Linked DNA regions of Homo sapiens: all the other regions are linked to region 4. Evidence: promoter capture Hi-C in 16 types of primary human blood cells and fetal thymus (Javierre and others, 2016). All regions are on one chromosome and are shown on one strand. Each heading gives the region's core, a stretch centred on a gene start or on the middle of the fragment in contact. The rest is flanking DNA. Distances are from core to core; before and after follow the strand shown. Region 1 overlaps LOC107986920 (a long non-coding RNA gene). Region 2 has its middle 17 kb from the start of INTS10. Region 3 overlaps INTS10 (integrator complex subunit 10). Region 4 holds the start of SLC18A1 (solute carrier family 18 member A1).

Region 1 (3,424 bases), core at 450-2,949, 410 kb before region 4:
CTAATTGCAATTTTCTTTTTAGCTAGTGTTATGATCTGAACATTTGTATTTCCCCAAAAATCCTGTATTGAAACATGATCCCAAGTGTGATGGCATTAAGAGATGTGGCACCCAAAGGGAGGGTGATTAGGTCACGAGGGCAGGGCCCTCATGGATGAATAAAATTAGTGCCTTTACAAAAGAGGTCAAGGGAGCTTGTTTACCCCTTTCCCCATGCGAGGACACCTCTAGAAGGTACCATCTATGAACCAAAAAGCAGGCCCTCACCAGACACCAAATCTGCTGACACTTGCGTCTTGTAGTTCTCAGCGGCCAGAGTTGTGAGAAATAAGTTTGTGTTATTTGTAAGCCACATTCTTATAGCAGCCTGAACAGTCTAAGACAGTTAGTACATAGGTGTTCTTCAGAGCCAACATGTTATGGGGAAAGAATACAGGATTAAGCATTAGGAACACTAACGTTCTCGCTCCAGTTCTTCCACTTAATTATATGGCCTTGGGCAAGTCACTAACTTCTTAGTTTCCTAATCTAATAAGGAGGGAGTAGGACCCAAGAAAAGTTTAGTAGATGTAATTTTAAAAGATTTACTTATATACTGAAGTATTTATAGGTGTAATGACCTGGTACCTGTTATTTGGTATCTATTTCCTTAGAATGCTTTGGGAAACAAAAGGAAAAAAAAGGTGGGCTAGAGATAAGCAAAAAGATTGGCGAAATGTTTTGATAATGAGAACATGGGTTCTATTATACCATTCCCTTTACTTTTGATGTTTAAAATTTCTCCATAATAACAATTTCCTAAGAAGTCACTAATAAATAATCCAGATTCTTTTTATCTTTAAAAGTATGTTTCACATCATCCTTGGATTTATAATTTTTTTAATCGGACAGGGGTCAGGACTTAGCGCCTTCTATGTGTTTGTTGCTGAGCAATCTGAATCTACTTGTTCTGAAATTCCCAGAACAAATTAATGGCTGAGCCAGGATTCTAACAACTACCTTCTGAGTTCCAAATCCCACCGCCATTTCGGTTACACCAAGCAACATGAGGGTGCTGCTGTCCCAGTGCAGTGTCAAATGGGAGCAGGGAGATGAGAAAGAGGGTGGAAATGGGGAAATTTGAGGCAAAGCTTCCGTATCAAGCATCAATATTTATTTAAAGTACATTCTGCTTCTAATTACAATCAAAACCAGGGGCAAACATTGCTGTGGGCAATTAAAACACCAGTCACTGCAGCTACTCGGGAGGCTGGGGCAGAAGAATGGCATGAACCCGGGAGGCGGAGCTTGCAGTGAGCCAAGATCACGCCACTGCACTCCAGCCTGGGCGACAGAGCAAGACTCCATCTCAAAAAAAAAAAGCCAGCCACAAATTATCCTCTAAGATTCTGGGCTGTTGAGAAACTGCTTCTATCACTCCCATTTCTACCTATCATTTCAGAATGAAACGGGAAGAAAGGTGAAATAATGCAAGTCAACACAGTACTATATTTTCTTTATTTCAACTAGGCTGGCGCCTGATACAGTTTAGGAAACAGTAAGCGCTCAATAAATGTATTTGGCTGAATCTAGGTAACCCTAAACATTTTCAGCATTTCATGTGATACATGCTTTTTGAGTACCTATCATGTGCTAGACAACATTTAGAACTTTGATACTGTGGACTAATTTAGTAATTTTTATGTATCTCATTATTAATAAGTGACTATTTCAATACTACCAAAAAATTTTAGTCCTCTCCTATATAAATTCCATAGAAAAAATTAACTCTATCAGCTTCAATTACATGACAGATTGTTAGAACAATTTTTAAAAAGCAAGAACCAATTTTATGCTGTCTACAGGAAACTAACTTTAAAGACATTGGTTAAAAATACAAGGGTAGAAAAAGATATAAGATGCAAACTCAAACTAAAAAAAAGTGAGAGTGGCCATACTAACAGCAGACGAAGTAGGCTTCAGAACAAGGAATATTACCAGGGATTCAGAGGGGTATTACGTAATGCTAAAGGATCAATTTGCCAAGAAGACGTAACAATCCTAAACGTGCATGCATCAAACAACAGAACTTCAAAGTACATGAAGCAGAAACTAATACAACTGAAAGGTAAAACAGAAAAATCCACATTCCTAGAGCTCAACACAAAGTCTGGGAGCTAAACCCGAGACTCTCACATTAAGCTGGGTCTTTTGAAGCAGTCTAAAGTGGTTCCAGACTAGCAGCTCCCACTGGCACACATCAGAAAGTAAAACAAATTCTTTCTGAGGAAAGCTTCCATGATTTAGGACCTCAGGATTCCAACTGATTAAAGTCAATCAAATATAAGTTCATGGTGCAAAGTCATCAAACATATGAGGAAATAGGCCAGCATGAAAAAAAGTCCAGGAAAAAATAACTTATAACCCAAAGAACTGAATTTAATATTGGAATTATCAGATATAGAATACAAAATAAATCTGTATGAAGAAGAAAAAAGATTGTATAAAAGACAGACAAAACTGAGCATTGCACAAGCAATAAAACATATCATAAATGAGCCAATAATTTATTTTAAATGAATTGATTTTGAAAATATAATCAATTGGCTTTAAAGGCTCAATGGATGGGCAAAATGCCAATTTAGATATAGCTAAAGAGAGAATTAGCACATATGAGGATAGAGTAGAAGTTGTTGCTGCAAGGAAAAAAAGGGAAATAAAGAATATGCCATGTATCAAGGGTCATGAATTAAAATAAACCTAACTCCAGATACAGTTCAGTGAAACTGAACAGGAAAGATAAAAAAAGATCTTAAATGCTGAGGTAACCATATTATTTATTCTCCAAACTAGAACTTTTTTTGGAGTCAATGAGGGCATTCTTAATAGATGTTCTAAGAAAACAGACTTAAAACAGCTGTCGTAGGCAAACTCACATACCAGGTCATCCTATTAAAGCACCCAGTAAAGCCGGGCAGAGTGGCTCATGCCTGTAATTCCAGCACTTTGGGGGCTGAGCTGGTGGATCACTTGAGGTCAGGAGTTTGAGATCAGCCTGGCCAACATGGTGAAACCCCGTCCGTCTCTACAAAAAATATAAAAAATTAGCCAGATGTGGTGATATGTGCCTGTAATCCCAGCTACTTGAGAGGCTAAGACAGGACAATTGCTTGAACCTAGGGAGGGTGGAGGTTGCAGTGAGCCAAGATCATGCCACTGCACTCCAGCCTGGGTGACAGAGCAAGATCCATCTCAAAAAAAGCACCCAGTGAGAAAAAATGTCACCTATACATATACAGAATGATCACCGGACTGTTAGCAGTCTTCTTAACAGCAACAAATGGAAGTCAGAGAACTGAAATGTCAAATAATACATAAAAAATACAGACAGCAAACCACCATGGCCCTCGAATTATGACCTCCAAAAAACTGTATTTCAAGAATA
Region 2 (3,375 bases), core at 722-3,221, 380 kb before region 4:
TTTCCAGTTGGGGAATATGCTACTACAAACATTCTTCTAGATGTCTTTCATCACACAGGGAGCGTATAACTCTGTTGAGCGAATTAGGAGTAGAATAACCAGATGAAGTGATATGTAGATCTTCAGCTTTTATAGATTATATCTAACAGATCGCCAAATTGCCTATAACCATTTGTCACTCTCATGAGCACAGTGAGAGTTTCCATTGTTCATATCCTTAATAATACTGGTTATTGTTACCCTTAATCATAGTATGGTTGTGTAGCAATATCTTGTTGAGATTTGAATGCGTATTTTCCTTATTTCTCATAGCTTTATTGGCCATTTAGATATACTCCTTTATGAAGTGCCTATTCAAAACTCTTGCCCATTTTTTCTATCGGATTACTTGTCTTTTCCTTTAAAAGTACAGAATATAAGTGGAGAAAAAGATTTTTAAAACGGACTGCATGGATCCTCCCTAATGGCAATAATGACTATTTCTGAATGATGGAATTACGAGTGATTTTATTTTCTTCCTTGTGCTTTTCTGTACTTTTCTAATTTCCTATAATGATTATGTATTATTTTCAGAAAGTTTAAGTGTTACACAATTATAATGAATAAAAACAATTGGTTTTAGCAAAAGACACTGTCCAGGAAATAAGTTTGAATACTGACTTGTTAAATGTATGGTATATAGGTAGAGTATCATTTATCTGAAATGCTTGGGATCAGAATTGTTTCAAATTTAAGATTTTTTTTATTTTGGGATATTTGCATATACATACTGAGAGATCTCAGGAATAGGACCCAAGTGTAAACACAAAATTCACTTATGTTTCATATACACCTTATACACATAGCCTAAAGGTAATCTTACATACTATTTTGAATAATTTTGTGCATTAAACAAGGTTTTGCCTGTGACCCATCACATGAGGTCAGGTGTAGAATTTTCCACTCTGGTGTCATGTTGGTGCTCAAAGAAGTTTTGCATTTTGGAACATTTTGGATTTCAGATTTTTTGATTAGGGATGCTCAATCTGTATTTGGATGATTTACGGTGGTGATTCTCAAACTATTACAAGGTGTTCCACAGCTAAAATTTAATAATAGTGTCCTTTTCCAATTTTCAATGGTTTAATTTATTTTGTTTAATGCCTTAGTACCAAACTTAAAATACCAAATTATTGACTTATATACATGTCAGTGAATTATTTACATGTCCAATAGGATCAAGAAGAAACAAAAGAGAGAACTTTGAGCCATAATTAGGAACTCATTCTCTATATCAAGAATGTCTTCCTTCACTCTCATCAGAACTCATACTAATGTAGCAGCTTCTTAAATAAAAGTATTTGTTCTGATAAATCACAAGTTTCAAGGTGTTAGATTTCCTGTATCCAAAATAAGTAATTATCAAACATTAATCAAATAGCTGTACCCAATAGTGTATAGCATAAAAAATTAAAACAATGATTGCTCTCAAAGAAATGCCATCTAATAGGAGAAATAAATCAAGCTAATGGAAATAACAAAAATATGATAGTGTATAAATAATGCAGGGAGTCAAAGAAAACATATTTAAAAGTAAGATGAAGCCATAAAATAAGGCCTAATACAAGAGGAACATTAAACTTTCAGAAAGTAATTTTTCTTCATTATTGGGACTCTGCTTGATCACTCTGTCACAAGAGATGCTACTCTACAACAATTAAGATTTTTAATCTAAATTAAATTTAAATTAAATTTAAACTTAAATTTAATCTAAATTAAATTAAAACTTAAATTTTTAAATTATCTTCTTATTTTTAAGATAATGGCAAGTTGATGGTTTTACAATAGTCTCAAAAGCTTTAGTTCCCCAGGATCCCAATCCTTTCTCTACTAGATTTTATGGTATATGTATGTCTTATTTATACACAGAAACATGCCTTCTTTTGTCCTTGCCTAACCTGGAATATCACTTGAAGAAGGCCTTAAAATGTTATTAAAAATTAATTTCCAACTATGACTTTCAACACTTCTAAATTCCACACAGCAACTTAGAGTCAGTTTTCATAAATGTTAAATTAGAATTTCAACACATAATTTAAAAGGAACTGTACAAGAATGTAAGTTTAAATAAGCTTGGAATGTCAGGGGAGGTGGCAGAGCAGGAAGCACCAGGGATCTGTCTCTTGAGAGAGACAGTGATTGTACTGGCAGAATCTGTCTGATAAAACTATTTGGGAATTCTATACTCCACTCAAAGGCTTGCAGTTTCCAGGGGAAGGTGTGGTTAATTTTGATCAATTTCAGCCTAGTGCAGCAGCAACTATGCATCGTCCCACCCCCAGCTCTGTGGCAGGCAGCTGTGTTAGGGTACCTAGAGTGGCTTTTAGGATATGGAGTGGGCAATAAGGACTTTGTTCTCCAAATGTTGGGGATCTGTGTTGTAATCATGACTGGTGCTTCTGGTTACAGAGAAGCAGACACAGAGGCAGGCAGCCACTGTTGCAACTCCCACTGCCATTGTTTAATACCACTCCAGCCAAAGTGGCTACCAGCGGATTTAAAGAGATGTTAAAAGACAAAAACTACAGAGTTAAAGATCCAATTGGCTTATACTTGTGACTCTAGAATCAGGAAGCATTTCATTCTACAAAATAGAATAAATGCTCTGGTGAGCTGAGCAGAGAGACTTGGCTTTATAAGGAGAAAAGGGCTGAAAGCAAAAACAAGGAATAACAAGCAGACTGGGCCAGGCATGGTGACTCATGCCTGTCCTCCCAGCACTCTGGGAGTCCGACACAGGTGGACCATTTGAGGCCAGGAGTTTGAGACCAGCCTGACCAATGTAGCGTAACCCCATCTCTACTAAAAATACAAAAATGCACACACCTGTCATCCTAGTTACTTGGGAGGCTAAGGCACAAGAATCACTTGAACCCAGGACGTGGAGGTTGCAGTAAACCAAAACCACACCACTGCACTATAGCCTGGGTGACAGGGTGAGACTCTGTCTCAAACAAAAACAAAAACAAAAAACAAACAAACGAACAAAAAAGCATACTGGTTACTTTGATAGAGGCAGAAAGCAGAGAAACTCTAGGAAAACAAGGGCAGGTCCCCAGTGAAACTCCACCTTCAAGACGAAAAGCCTGAAACCTGTGGCGCAAAGTGAGAACTTCTGTACCCATTTGCCTGCTCTCTCCTGATTCGTTCTTTCTAAATAGTGTCTTTTTACCAACTGAATGTTGCCTTTTACAGAACTACATATGGCCCACCCTGCCCCCCATCCTGTGGCTATAAAGACCCCAGATTCAGTCAGTAAGGAGAAAAAATGGCTGGATGTCAGGGAGAGGTGACTTGACTTCAGAGAAGCAGCTGGACATCGAAGAGTCAACTTGA
Region 3 (3,271 bases), core at 18-2,517, 360 kb before region 4:
GCAAGAAACTTTTAAAAGTGAAATATGTTTCGTACAGGTTTATTTGAAACTCTTCCTGGTCGGGTCCAGTGTGAAATGTTACTAAAGGTCACGGAACAATGCTTCAACACGTTAGAACGATCAGAAATGTTGCTTCTACTTTTGAGGCGCTTCCCTGAAACGGTGGTGCAGCATGGGGTGAGATTTGATTCTTCCCCTTCTTTTAATATAAAATACAATGGGTCATCAACAGATTCATCGGTATGGTGAGGAGCTACAAAGCAGAAGTTTCTGAAGAGTACTGGTTAAGATTGAACTGAAATAGAAGGTTCTTTGTTAGTAAAGCTAAAAGGACATTCTTTTCACCATATTTTGTAAGTTTCCAGGAGAAGCTGTTTTATCAGGAAAATCACCAAGCTCTGACAGTACTGTTTATTGCAATCCATATGGTAAAAAGTAATCTTTTTCCGTTGTATTCTACAATGTGCTTTTGAATTTAGCGTAGAGTTTATAGTCTTAACAGATGCGTTTTTCCTGTGCTTCTGCCCTATGGAGACTATTTTCATTCTATTCCTGCCCCTTTCCTTCATCTGTAATAATTATCGAGTGCTATTGGCAGGCATGGGAAAGTGCTAGGTATCTCCTATCTTCCTAAATCCCCTGAAGTAAATAGTATCCCACTTTACAGATGACGAAACTGAGCATTTTGTGTTTTAGTAACTTCCCATAGCCAGTGAGGTGTCAGGTTTCAAACCATTCACTCCATTCGTTCATACTCTGCGGCTTATTTCCCATGCCATTTTCTGGCGTCTGGCCCGGGTTAATCATTTCCATACCTGCTTGTGTTAGTCTCCTAGGGTTGCCATAACAAAGTACTACAAACTGGGTAGCTTAAAACAACAGAAGGACTCCCACAATTCTGGAAGCTAGAAGTCTAAAAGTCAGGTGTTGGCAGAGGCACTTTCCCTCTGAAGGTTCTGGGGAAGAATCTTTCTTTACCTCTCCCTGGCTTCTGATGGTTGTCAGCAATCTTTGGCATTCCCTGGCAGGCAGCTTCATCACTCCTCCAATTTCTGCTCCATCACCACATGATCTTCTTTCTTTTGTGCCTTTGTCTTTACATGGCCTTTTTTGTCGTTGTTTTTTGAGGCAGAGTCTTGCTCCGTTGCCCAGGCAGCAGTGCAGTGGCATGATCTTGGCTCACTGCATCCTCTGCCTCCTGGGTTCTACCAATTCTCATGCCACAGCCTCCTGAGTAGCTGGGATTACAGGTGTGTGTACATGGCCATGTTATAAGGACACTAGTCATTGGATTGAGGGCCTTTCTAATCCACCATGACCTCATCTTAATTAATTATATCTACAAAGATACTTTTTTTAAAAAAAAAGGTAAGATGTCTATGAGGTCACATTCTGAGGTTCTGCGGGGATATGAATTTGGGGGGGCACTGTTCAGCCCAGCACACTTTCTGGTCATAACTCTGACCTTTCACCTTCTGTGTGATGTAATCTTTCGCACTTTTCCACTCCTGTGGTGCATCCCTGTGTGGTCACAAGGAAGTTGATACCAGTGTCTTGGTGGATTTGAGTAAGGGACCGTCTACTATGCTAAGGCATTGGTAATGGAAAGGTAGCCTTAAAACTCTGACTTTTCTGTCCATTCTACACCAGACTGTATGACTGGCTACACCTCAGAACTTATCTTGAACGTGATACGTTTTGTCTATATTGATACATCTTCATGTAGAGAATAACCTTAGTTTCTTTATTTCTTAGAAAATCTCTCTACCTCTGTATTATCATTTGAACTCCAGTTCCATTGCTTCCTTTACATTTCTATAGACATTTTGTTAATTCTTGTTCATCGTTAATTAGAATTTGCTAATTATGAAGAGAATAACCAAGACAGAGTGGTCAGATGTTCAGGTGAATTTGGCCTTCTAGGGTGTGTGGCTGGTGCATTCTTTTATTTTCCAGTCTTTAAAATGTGATTATTTGTTTCTCAGATAAGTTTGATTATGCAAACTGTGATAAGTAAAAAAAATACCCCATTACTTCATATAGTTCTGACAACTTATGCTGTAACACATTTAAATGAGTAATTTTGTTTTGAAATAGGTTGGCCTTGGGGAGGCACTATTAGAGGCTGAAACTATTGAAGAACAAGAATCTCCAGTGAACTGCTTTAGAAAATTATTTGGTAAGGAAAATTGTATTCTCTATTACTTCTATGGTAAATTAATATGCTGGGGTAAGTGTTGGTTCAGGGATAAGCTCATATATGAAAGGCAAAGGAGCTTTATGTGTTATGGCATTTAAGTTCTTTTTTTTTTAATTTAGAAGCATTTTAGCTGGGTGCGGTGGCTCACGCCTGTAATCCTAGCACTTAAGGAGGCCAAGGTGGGTGGATCACGAGGTCAAGAGATCGAGACCATCCTGGCCAACATGGTGAAAACCTGTCTCTACTAAAAATACAAAAATTAGCTGGGCATGGTGGCGCACGCCTGTAGTCCCAGCTACTACGGAGGTTGAGGCAGGAGAGTCGCTTGAAACTGGGAGGCGGAGGTTGCAGTAAGCCGAGATCGCGCCACTGTACTCCAACCTGGTGACTGAGTGAGACTCTGTCTCAAAAAAAAAAAAAGCATTTTAAACAACTTCTAAACTTTTGTTATGTAAGATTTGATACCTCTGAAAGAATATGCATAGCTGTATATGTAAGTATGAAGCATAGTAATAAACATCTGAATTCAATGGAAGAACTGGACCCTCACCCACAGCATAAAAGTGTCTGTGTTTCCTCCCTGACTCCAGCCACTGGTGTCTCTCTGCACAGCACATTTTGAATACATGAGTCATAAGGGATTTTTCCCCCTATATATTTTAGATACTACATCAAATGAACTCTGAAAGCTTTTGTATTTATCGGAACTCTAGGGTAGACAACCTAATTAATTTATTTCTTCTTTTTCTCCTCCAACAGTTTGTGATGTCCTTCCTCTAATAATTAACAACCATGATGTTCGATTACCTGCCAATTTATTGTATAAGTACTTGAACAAAGCAGCTGAATTTTATATCAATTATGTCACTAGGTCTACTCAAATAGAAAATCAGCATCAAGGTAAGTAGGAATACCCTGTACTTTTACTTAAATAGGCTTTAGTAATATTGCAAAATTCAGAAACCCCTCAATGTTCTGATTATTCTCCTCTGGATACTTACCAGTTTGGGAGTGTTTCAAAAGATGGTATCTAGAAAAAAAATACTAAAAGATGAGGCTTTTCTGGAAGCA
Region 4 (3,090 bases), core at 381-2,880:
GGAGGCTGAGGTGGGAGGATATCTTGAGCCCAGGAGTTTGAGTCCAGCCTGGACTACATAGCAAGACCCCTAACTCTCAAAAAATTTTTAAAACCAACATAGATATTGATATCATGTTTCAAAAAGTTATTTTATGTGGCATGCAAAAAAAGTATGACCTTTGTTCTAGGTGCTACCCCAAAATATTTCATGTGGCACAGTGTCACTTGGGCTGCCCACTGAGAAACACTGATGTAGACCAACCTTCATCTCATAGACAAGAAATCCGAGCCTCTGAAGGTTAGGAGATTTGTTTGGGGTTGCACAGTTAGTGTCAAACTGGGATGAAATCCCACGCTTTTCAACTTGCCAGCTTATCCTCTACCATGTTCCCTTGCTCTGTGGTTCTAGAAGCACGCTCATTCTTTTGTTTGAGCTACAAACCCCTGATCAGAAAGATGCCTTCATCTGTGAAAATAAAATATTGACTTTCATGATTAGTTCTCTATTCAGGATTTCATATCATTAGTCAGCATTAAGTCACAGTACCTTGTCAAACTTCAAGTAATAAGAGTTTCTGGGGAGAATTTCATTTTCTTTGACGTGGCTTCTGTTGTGGTATCAACAATATCACTCATTTAAATTTTAAAATAGATTACCATCATGAAATCTATCAGGCCCTAAAAATTGTATACTCTTTGACTTAGTAACTCTACTACAAGGAACCCATCCTACAAAAGAAAAAAGGTCAGAGATGCAGCCAAAGACTTATACTCAAAATGATCAATTGCAGAATTATTTTTCTTAGTGAAAAAAGTCAAACATGTTAATGGTGGATTATTAAGCGGCTCTTAAAAATTATATTTTCAAATAATTTTAATGATACAGAAAATACTATTACTATAACGTTAAGTAAAAAAGGGAAATTAAACTGTGTTTTCAACTTTATCTCAATTGTCTAAATATAAATATATGGGCACATTTTTGAGAGAGTAGAGAGATACTCAAATGCCAGTTATTTATAATCAATGACTTCAGTTATCTTCTGTGTATTTCTAAATATTCAATAATGAGCTACTTTTGTAATTAAAGAAGTAAATAATTTTAAATGATTATCACTGAAATTCAATAGTCAGCCTCAGGTGTTGGGAGTACCCCAAACACTGAGGTACTCTGTTCTAAGCCCAGGGCTGGAAGAACCCTCTCACTACTACATATTAACGTGACCAAGGTCCTAAGTGAACCAAATTCTCAGTTAAGTTTTAACCAGTAAATGCATGCAATTACTTAAGATCCTTCATTTCTCTATATAAAGGAGGTATTTCTGAATACAAATTGACTTAGGATATGTATGGATAAGAATAAAAGACAAGCCATGGAAAATTAAAAAACATAGTGAGTGAAGTAAGTACTACAAAGAGAGAGAAACACACACACCCAAATCCCAAAACAAAAACAAACAAAACCAGGAATTTGCCAACAAATCAATAGTAAACTTTACTTAACAGTCAAAATCCTCTGACAGAGACACAAATCACAAGGAAAGATTAAATTTGTCCGGAGAGAGAAAAATCTTACCTTGGAGCCCATGTTGGTGTGAGGCACTCAGTGAGGTATTGGCAGCTGTTAGCAAGACAGCAGGGACACTGTTCTCTGAACGTGGATGTGCTGTTGGATTTATTGCCTCCTGTTATCTGAGGATTCTGTGTATGTGTGTGTGTGTGTGCCTTTGTCCACAAAGATTTAATTGCAACCTCCAACAGGGTTCATTCAGACCCTTAGCTCCCTGCGTCAAAGGCAGGAAGGCAGGGCTGGAGAGGATAAAGAGAGGGCAGATATTAGCCTAAGCAAAGAGGCACTGGACTGTACTGTTTTGCATCTGTGCTTATCTATCATCGAACTCTTTAACTCTTGCCTGGGTCTGAATACAAATTGGAAGCCAAGATGGAACCAGTGTGCAGTTCCTGTTCCTTGCTACTTAGTCAAAGTGGCTCCATGTACCCCAATTAGCTTCCTGGAAAGAAACAATGTATGTTGTTCTCAAGCCATAAAAACCCAACATCTGTGGCCTCTGTAAAGGCTTAGATTATGCACTGTGTCTTCACATCTCAATACTGGCTCAGTGCCTGATACATGGTAGCATCCAATAAATATTTCTTGCATGGATGACTGGATGGTTAACTACAGGAGAAAGTGCAGTTCCTTGTGGGATCTTGAGAGGCTCTAATGATCTATATTATTCTGACATTAAACCATTGGTGGCTCAAAGAACATAAGCAATTTATGAAAAAGCAAATACACTTTACGAGCAAGAGCAGTGCAGAGATTTCCTATTTGTGGAACTGGTGGGCCCCTCCTAATTGTGGGAATTAACTAGGGAACTTTCGATTTAACGCTAAAAAAAAAGAAAATAGTTTTTTAATTTTATTTTTTTTATTTTTGAGACAGAGTCTCGCTATGTCACCCAGGCTAGAGTGCAGTGGCATGATCTTGGCTCACTGCAACCTCCACCACCTGGGTTCAAGCAATCCTCTAATCTCAACCTCCTGAGTAGCTGGGATTACAGGTGCATGCCACCATGCTCAGCTAATTTTTGTATTTTCAGTAGAGACAGGGTTTCACCATGTTGGCCAGGCTGGTCTCGAAGTCCTGACCTCAAGTGATCCTCCTGCCTTGGCCTCTCAAAGTGCTGGAATTACAGACGCGAGCCACAGCGCGCGGCCTAGATGGAAACAGTTTTAAAATGTAAACCTAGAGCGAGAAATAGGGATAGGAAACAAAGACATCAGCAGAATGTATTCATCGCTATAGTTTGCTGCTGTAACAAATTACTACAATCTGGTGGCTTAAAACAACACGTATTTAGTATCTTGCAGTTCTGGAGGTCAGAAGTCCAAAATACATCACACCGGGTTAAAATGAATGTGTCGGCAGGGCTGCATTCCTTCTGGAGATTCTGGGGGATGGTTGTTTCCTTGCCTTTTCCAGCTTCCAGAGATCTCCTGCATTTCTTGGCTCCTAGCCACTTTTACCCTCAAAGCTAGCAGCAATGCATATTCAACTCTCCCTCTGACTCTGAGCCTTCTGCCTCCCTCTTTCACTTGTAAGGAC

Evidence for each region. Contacts are between HindIII fragments. The CHiCAGO score rates a contact against its expected background, and 5 or more counts as called.
Region 1: a fragment that was not itself captured here is called in contact with the fragment with the promoter of SLC18A1 in region 4 in 1 of 17 cell types (neutrophils); the score reaches 5.2 in neutrophils.
Region 2: a contact is called between a fragment that was not itself captured here and the fragment with the promoter of SLC18A1 in region 4, in 1 of 17 cell types (neutrophils). The highest score is 6.2, in neutrophils.
Region 3: a contact is called between a fragment that was not itself captured here and the fragment with the promoter of SLC18A1 in region 4, in 2 of 17 cell types (monocytes and neutrophils). The highest score is 6.7, in monocytes.

What each region holds. Positions count from the first base shown.
Region 1 is chr8:19,771,917-19,775,340 of GRCh38, forward strand. The region is part of intron 2 of LOC107986920 (a long non-coding RNA gene); the gene reads right to left. Among named protein-coding and RNA genes, the nearest start is that of CSGALNACT1, 16 kb to the left of the region's middle. The HindIII fragment of the contact is 1,142 bases long and covers 1,129-2,270 here.
Region 2 is chr8:19,798,848-19,802,222 of GRCh38, forward strand. No RefSeq gene overlaps it. Among named protein-coding and RNA genes, the nearest start is that of INTS10, 17 kb to the right of the region's middle. The HindIII fragment of the contact is 275 bases long and covers 1,835-2,109 here.
Region 3 is chr8:19,820,342-19,823,612 of GRCh38, forward strand. It overlaps INTS10 (integrator complex subunit 10), which reads left to right. Exons shown (of 17, transcript NM_018142.4): 4 at 38-177; 5 at 2,098-2,179; 6 at 2,960-3,100. Among named protein-coding and RNA genes, the nearest start is that of INTS10, 4.6 kb to the left of the region's middle. The HindIII fragment of the contact is 3,239 bases long and covers 1-2,887 here.
Region 4 is chr8:20,181,506-20,184,595 of GRCh38, forward strand. It overlaps SLC18A1 (solute carrier family 18 member A1), which reads right to left and starts at 1,631. Exons shown (of 16, transcript NM_003053.4): 1 at 1,558-1,631. The HindIII fragment of the contact is 10,670 bases long and covers 1-3,090 here.